2 separate regions of the Homo sapiens genome follow, and region 1 is linked to region 2. Evidence: promoter capture Hi-C in human tissues and cell types (Jung and others, 2019). All regions are on one chromosome and are shown on one strand. The core of a region is centred on a gene start or on the middle of the fragment in contact, and the rest is flanking DNA. Distances in the headings are between cores, read along the strand shown. Region 1 holds the start of HNF4A-AS1 (HNF4A antisense RNA 1). Region 2 holds the start of R3HDML (R3H domain containing like).

What was found. The method cuts DNA at HindIII sites, captures the fragments that hold promoters and counts their contacts. A contact is called where the count stands out against the background at its distance.
Region 1: a contact is called between a fragment that was not itself captured here and the fragment with the promoter of R3HDML in region 2, in 1 of the 25 tissues and cell types used here (pancreas).

Annotation. Positions count from the first base shown.
Region 1 is chr20:44,392,104-44,395,994 of GRCh38, reverse strand. The region is part of intron 1 of HNF4A (hepatocyte nuclear factor 4 alpha); the gene reads right to left. It overlaps HNF4A-AS1 (HNF4A antisense RNA 1), which reads left to right and starts at 333. Exons shown (of 3, transcript NR_172878.1): 1 at 333-542. The HindIII fragment of the contact is 5,512 bases long and covers 1-3,891 here.
Region 2 is chr20:44,334,537-44,338,383 of GRCh38, reverse strand. It overlaps R3HDML (R3H domain containing like), which reads right to left and starts at 1,341. Exons shown (of 5, transcript NM_178491.4): 1 at 966-1,341. The coding sequence starts at 1,226. RefSeq lists an enhancer at 1,670-2,659. The HindIII fragment of the contact is 19,264 bases long and covers 1-3,847 here.

The sequences.
Region 1 (3,891 bases), core at 1,357-3,856, 56 kb before region 2:
TAAAGCACCTTATCCCGGGGTATAGGCAGGGGCAGGGGCATCCTCCACACGCCTGGCCACCCCAGGGCTGCTTGGCATCTTCACTTCCCCTTGGCGCTCACCACACCATTATCTCCTATCTTTTCTTCCCCACCCACCACTCCGGGAGAGGTGCAGAGAAAACTGGGACTTATCAAGACAAAGAACAAAAGTCGTGGAGGAAAGAAGCCAAGAGCCATCTCTACTCTGGGGTAGGGCCCTTCAGTTTTGCCCCTTTGAAATTTCAAATTCCAGTTTGTGGACAAAGTCCTAACTATCTCACAATATAGGTCCCCAACCACTGACCAAACTCCAGTCCAGGCAGCCACCAGCTGGCCTGGTCTTGCTGCTTCCTTTAGCGGCTTCCAAGGTCCAGGGACAGGGGGTCTGGGCCACCAAGAGGCTCTGCTAGGCTGTCCCTGCAGCCACAGCCACCCCACTGGACCCCTGCCTCCCATCTGAGAGGACAGCCCTCTTCCTGGAGCTGGGATCTGACACTTGCTGATACCAACGGCAGATACCAGGTAGGTCCCCTCCCTTTCTCTTCCTTGAGCTCCTAAAATGCCACTCATACCACCCTCTGCACTCGGCAAAGGCCACTGTGGCTTAATCAAATCAGGCACCCACAAAGCTTCAAGACTGGAAAAGATGCCTTGGCTAACCCACCCATTTAGTGGACGGAAACACTGAGGCCGTCAGGGGAGTGGCAGCTGGCCACAGACTGAACCATAGACTTGGGGCCCAGACCTGGGGCCCCTCACGGAGCCTCAGAGGGTGAAAGGGACTTGCTCAAGTCCACGCAGCGGTGGTGGGTGAGCTTTGTCTTAACAACGAGCACTTTCTACTTCATCACAGACCATGAGTGGCATTGTGTTTGTTCACCCGATGATGGGTGGCCACTGGCTTGTTCACCCGATGATGGGTGGCCACTGGCTTGTCACAGGAGTATTTCCGAGAGGAAGATGAGGGAGCTTGGGGCTGAAGGCCAGTGGGTTTGGAAGGAAGCAACATTCATGTGGTTAACTGATAACTGGGCCCCATCCCTGGGCCTCCTTCCTCCCTCCCTGTCCTTAGCCTGATTAAGACCAACTTACCCAGCTGCTAATCATTGCTGAGCCTGTTGATTTTGCCTTAAAAAATTAACTGGGCATGAGTTTGCGGTTTTCCTCACCCCTAACCCTGAAAAGGCCTGGGTGGGCAGGAGGCCTCCAGGGTTATGCAAGAGGCCGCTGGCCTCCCAACGCATAGCCCACGGCCACCTCGGCTGCTCTCCAAAGAAGAGGCTTTGCTCAAGAGTCAACAGTCTGCTTGTTCCCCCTGTGCTGGGTCCTGAGCAAATTTGCTCTGTTACCAAAGAGAGATAAAGGCAGCTGGGGGAGAGCTTTCCAAACAGGGATGGGAAGCGGCAGCTTTGAGCTTGGGGTTCTAGAACTCTGCAGTGTCAGAGCCAGGAGAATCTTTAGGAGGATGTGGGCTGGGGTTTTTCAAGCTGGGTTCCGAGGCTCCCAGGAGCCAAGGGTATGCATCCACAGGCCCAGCTTCAACCAGCGACTCCCTTTTACATGTAGTCTTAATATTTTATTTGAGGGTTGGAAAACCACTGATTCAGCCCCATCCCCTCATTGCACAGATGGGGAGATGGAGATCAGAGGGGGAAGTGACTTGTCCAAGGACAGAAGGTCACCTCGGGTATTCAGGGGCTCCAGCCAGCATGGGAATGAATGGTGGGCTCTCTGTGGACCCGGGCAATGTCTTGAAAGACATTGGTGAACAAGACGGCTCTGCAAACGCCTTGCCATGCCGTTCTCCCCCTCCTCCCAGGGCTGGCTGGAAGCAGAGAGGTGCCTGAGAGCCATTGGAAGACCCAAGTCAGGGGAATGCACCTGGCTCTGTGTCCCATGGGCCCTGTGAGGATATGACCAGCAGCCAGGCACTGCAAACCGGAGACTACGTTATAATCCATCTCAGCCACGTCCTGTCTCTGGAGGCATCAGCACTTTGGGAGGCTGAGATGGGAGGATTACTTGAGCCCAAGAGTTTGAGACCAGCCTGGGCAACATAGTGAGACCCTGTGTCTATTTTTTAAAAAGATTTTTTAAAATTAAAGACAGATGCCCAGTCCCTATCACAAAAAAAGATGTAGAGCCCTGCCCTGACTCTCTCCACCTCTCTGAGCCTCAGTTTCTTCACCTGTAAATTGGGAATTATAATACTTAACTTCCAGGGTTGTCATGAAAATGAAATGAAGCAAAATATACACATTGATCATCATGGCCACTGGATATGCAGCTGTTTTAGGAGCTTTGCATGTGTTACTTCCTTGATCCTCCCAGCCACTCTGGGAGGTAGGCAATGTTTTCACCAATTTTTTACACACCAGAGGCACAGGGAGGTTGAGCCATATACCCATGCTCACACAGCTGATGAGAAACAAGAAGTGGAATTGGAACTTGGGCAGTCTGTCTCTAGAGTCTGTGCCTCTAACTCCAGGGCTACCCTTCCCTTCCAGGGATGCCAGTGAGAGATGGCCAGGAGAAGGGCAGAGAGCAGGGCACTGTGGGAGATGCTGACTGTAAGGCTCCGGAGGTAGGGCAGAGAGTATGGTCTGGAGAATGATCAGGAAGGAAGCCAGGAGGACTTGGATCTGTGTGGGTGGAGCTTCTCCGCAGGCTGCCTCCTGCCAGGTGGCTTATGACATCTGGGCTGAGGGTGTTGCTGTCCTCCTGTTTATGTTCATCCCTCCTGTTTATGTTCCTGAATTTATCTGCAGGGGTGACCTTGGGAATTAGATGCGGCCTTCCCGGCCCTTGTGGGGCCTGAAGGCTGATGGGAGCCCCTGCCTGACCCAGACTCTGGTTTGGGGAGTGAGGGCTGAGCCCACATCCCAGAAGCCACCCTTGGTCTCCCCATACTCTTGTTCTGAGGGGCCCCAGGGATTTGCCAGGTCACTAAGGTGAAGTGTTTGGAAGTCCTGAGGCTCAGATCAGAGTTACTGCCCTGTACAGTTGTGCAGGTTGCTCACTGCACAAAGGTTCTCCAGCCAAGAGGGCAGGTAGGGATGGAAACCCAGCCCTTGTTCCACTTGCCAAGCGAAGTGCCCATGGAGCTCTGCCTGCCCAGAGTGGGGTGCCTTTTTCTTATTTGCCCTAGGGCTTCATGTAAGCTGCTGGGTGTCCTGCCCCAGCTCTGGTTCCAGCCACTGTGTGTCCTTGGGCAAGGTCATTTCCCTCCCTGGCCTTGGTTTCCCATTGGAGAAGTTTTGTCTAACAAAGCAGAGACTCATCTCTGAAGATGAAATAGAATCATCTGAAACCTTTAAAATATACAGATGTTGGCCGAACATGGTGGCTTACACCTATAATCCTAGCACTTTGGGAGGCTGAGATGGGAGGTTTACTTGAACCCAGGAGTTTGAGACCAGCCTGGGCAACATAGTGAGACCCTATGTCTATTTTTTAAAAAGATTTTTTAAAATTAAAGACAGATGCCCAGTCCCTATCACAGATCAATGATCGAATCTTGGGGTAGGGGTGGGGAGGTGCCAGGCGTCTATATTTTTGTGCAGCCAATATTGAGACCCACTGTAGGGGGGCTTCAAATTTGAACCTGGAAAGCCTTCGATGGCATCAAGTTCTATCACTTACTACAACTTACTAGTCAAAACCTCAGCGAGGCTCAGTTTTCCCATCTGTAAAGAGGGAATGATGATCGTTTCCTCACAAAATCAAAATGCCAATTAAATGAGATAATGTTCAGACAGTGCTTGGCACCATGTTCCCCAAGTAGGGAGCTCCTGATTCTTGCTACCAAGACTATTATTGTTGTTATGGGCAATTTGACGTTGACAAAATAAAGGGCCTTTCTAGGTCAAGG
Region 2 (3,847 bases), core at 92-2,591:
CCACTAAAATGTCACCTTCGTGAAGGAAGGGGCCTTGTCTATTCTGTTACCAGCAGTATCCACAAGGCTTAGCACGGTGCCTGGCTGCAAGTGTACTCCAAGTATAAGTCAATGGATACGATGAAAAAGTTAAGTTTTCAGGCTATCGAGTGGCATGTGTTGGTCTTTCAGGGGGCAGACTGGCAAACTCTTTCCCTAAAGACATCTCTGGGTGGGCTGGAAACCCATCCCTCTAGGCTGGTTTTGGACAGTGGCCCTGGGGGAGGAGCTGTAAGCAAAAGGTTGGTGCCCTCCTTTGACTTCTTGGGGGCTGGAGTGAGAGCCACCAGCCCTGCCTCTTTGAGGGGAGACATCCCAGCTTCCTCTGCTGGTCAGCTGTTGGTTTTCCTCAGCCTGAGATTCCCCAGTACCTGTCCCCACTGCTCCAAGCCTGCCTCCAGGGGCTTGTGGAGGATGCTGTGGGTGTGTCAGTCAAGACCTTAGGGTAAAGAGACAATAGCATAGAAAGCACCAGCCACGCACCCCATGCAGGTCCCCAGTGTGGGGAGCCAAAATTCTTGGGTAGGGGATTGTGATGGTTACAGTTGTGATGGTGCCAGGTGGCAGCAGGCAGACCTGGATTGAAATCCTGGCTGGGCAAATTAATTCTCTGAGTCTCAGTTTCTTCCTCTGGAAAATGGAGATGATACTCACGTGCAGTGCCTGGCGCACAGTGGTGCTCCTTACATAGTAGTCACATGCCTGACTCACTGGAACAGCTGTGCAACCTTCTTGGTTTCCTCATCTGTAAAATGGGCAGATTAACTCCTGCCCTTTCCACAGGTCGACACCCAGATACTGGCTAGTGGGGCCAGGCAGGCAAGTGGTCCAGCTCTTCAAAGCCAGTCATTCTAGGCCAAGATGAGTCCGGCTGCGTTTGCCGGAAGGGACACTGCGGGGGGTGGGGGGCAGGTACGGGGACTCACCATGTATTCCATGTTGGCGGCAGGTGGGTACACACTGGCCCGGATGTGGTTGTGATAATCCAGTAAGGCATTCATGTCTCTCACAGAGATGTGGCGCTTCCGGCGGTACCTGGGCACCTCCAGGCCACTCAGGAGCCGCATAGCCGTGCTCTCGGGCTGGGCCGGGGCTGGGGTAGCATTAGGCATTATCAAGGCGTTCACTGCCTGGCCAGCCCAGAAGAGCAGGCCTGCCAGGCCCACGGTGCTGGGCAGCAGGGGCATAGCTGGATGGAGGAGTCACAGGTCTGCCTTGTGCAATCAGAGCCGGCTGCCTGGAAGGGGCAGGCACGAGAGCACCAGACCCTGAGCGTTCTCCAACAGTGCCGACCCAGAGGATGCTGCCTCCTGGGAACTTGGCAAAGACCTCCAGATGCAGCTCTGGTCCAGATGCCCAGCACCCCTTCCTTTCCACCCCAGGGGACTGAGTGGGTTGGGCAAGGGGAAGAAATGCCCAGACAGTGGCTAATCCAGACATGGCCCTGGGGTGAGATGGTGCCACCACTTCAAAGCCAGTGCTCTGTCCCTCCAGCCCAGGAGACAGACAGCAGCCCTCTCCAGTCTAGACATCCTCTTCACCAATCCTGCTGGAGCGGGCTCAGTCAATGCCCTCGGAGGGCAGGGCCCACCTTACCCCAAGTCATATTGCAAGGTCCTTTTGTCCCTGCTTTGCTGCAATTTAGGAATTGAGAATGAGACACAGAGAAAACCCAATGGCAGAGAATGAAAGAGGCAGAGAAAAAAGAGAGACCAAAAAGGGGACAGAAAAAAAGAGTTACAGAGAAAAAAGAATGAGAAATAGAAAGGTAAAGAGATAAGAGAGAATGAGAGAGAGGCAACAATGTGGCTGGGGGAGGACAGAAATAGACAGAGAGAGGGGCACAAACAGAAGAAAGAGCGAAAAATCGACTTAGAGAAGAGACAGAGAAGCACGAGAGACCAGGCAGGAGGCTCCAACGGTGCGTACCCAGGACGGGCAGCCCAAGCGGTGGCAGGCGGCAGCCCAGGAGGCCGGGGACCTCTGCAGACACCCTGGCCCACCTGGCGGCGCAGCAACTTTAACGGTCCCCTGGTGCTGTTGGCATCTGACGTCCCTGGCCCCACAGCCCCCTCCCCTTCCAGCCAGGCCAGACTCCTGCAGGGAGGCTCCGCCTGCTGCTTGATGGGCTTTTCTCTCCCGCCCCTCTCTCTCTGCTTTCACCTGAAGCATGTAGGGCTGGGCTGGGCAAATGGTCAGGGTAGTGATGTGGCAACAGGGCAGGGATTCCAGGAAAAAATACTCATCCCCTATGGGAGATCCCAGACCCCGAGGCTTCTCTCTGCCTTCCACATCCTGACATATTAAGGCCACCTTGCATCTGGAGAGTATTTTCTGACTGTTTTCCCTATAACACCCTCCAGCCTTGGAGCAGACAGTTAATATGGCCCATCTAGTGAGCCCCTGCTATGTGCCAGGCCCAGGGCTGAGTGCTTTACACAAAAGCCCAGCCAACCTTCAGAAGCAGGTACTATAGCTCCCCATTTCATAGATGAGGAAACTGAGCCCCAGAGAGGAGAAAGAACAAGCCCAAAGTCAAGCCAGCCAGTCTGCAATCACGCCAGGATTTAAGTCCAGATCTGACCCCAGGCCTGGTTAGTATCTAAAAGGATGCCTTTTCCTTTTCCTTTCCTTTTTTTTTTCTTTCTGTTTTTTGTCTCACTTTGTCGCCCAGGCTGGAGTGCAGTGGCGCAATCTCGGCTCACTGCAACCTCGATTCTCCTGCCTCAGCCTCCTAAGTAGCTGGGGCTACAGGTGCACACCACCACACCTGGCTAATTTTTGTATTTTTTAGTAGGGATGGGGTTTCACCATATTGGACAGGCTGTCTTTCTTTTTTTTTCTTTTGAGACAGAGTCTCGCTCTGTCGTCCAGGCTGGAGTGCAGTGGCACAATCTCGGCTCACTGCAACCTCCACCTCCCAGGCTCAGGTGATCCTCCCATCTCAGCCTCCTGAATAGCTGGGGCCACGGGCACGCACCACCATACTTGGCTAATTTTTTTGTATCAGCCAAAGATGCCATTTTCTAACCAAACCAAATATAGATGCATAAGGAAAAAAGCCTAGGGTGATGTTCGTTATGATGCCACTCAAACACAGCCTATTCATTAGCAAATGAATTAAGCCCACAAATCTGGGTTCAAATTTCCCTTATCCCACCCCCTCACTAACTAGGTGTTGGGCACGTTACTCAACCATTGTGTGCCTCATCTGTAAAATGGGAGAAATAGCGGTGCCTACCTTGTAGCATTACTGCGAAGATGAAATGAGTGAACATTTGTGGAGCCTTAGTACAGTGGCTGGCACACTGTGTGCACTCTAGGAATGTGTGTGTGAATGTGTTTGTGTGTACGTGTGTACTTGTGAGAGTATGTATGCACTTGTGTATGTGTGTGCAAGTATACTTACATGTGTGTGTGTTTGAGTGTTCTTGAGTCAAATGTGTCCCCAGGTGAATGTATGAGTATGTAGATAATGGACGTGTGTGCGTGTGTGTGTGTGTGTGTGTGTGTGTTTAAAGTCTCAGTCTCTGAGTTGCTGAAGTCCTAGGTTAAGAAAGAGTTCAATTTTCTCCTCTTTCATTACTTGTATTCCCCAAAAATAAAATGCATTACTTTTGTAATAGAAGGGGATAGACTTACAACAGAAAGGTGTTATATAAAAAACACAGGTGAAGAATTTGCAATCCTCAGACTACTCTTCTAGCAAGCTCTGAGGATTCCCAGGCTGAACCTAGTCTCGGGGCAGCAGGCCAAACCCTGGGCCAGCTGGCGAAGCAGGGCTGGGGGCTGGGACTGGGCTACTCCA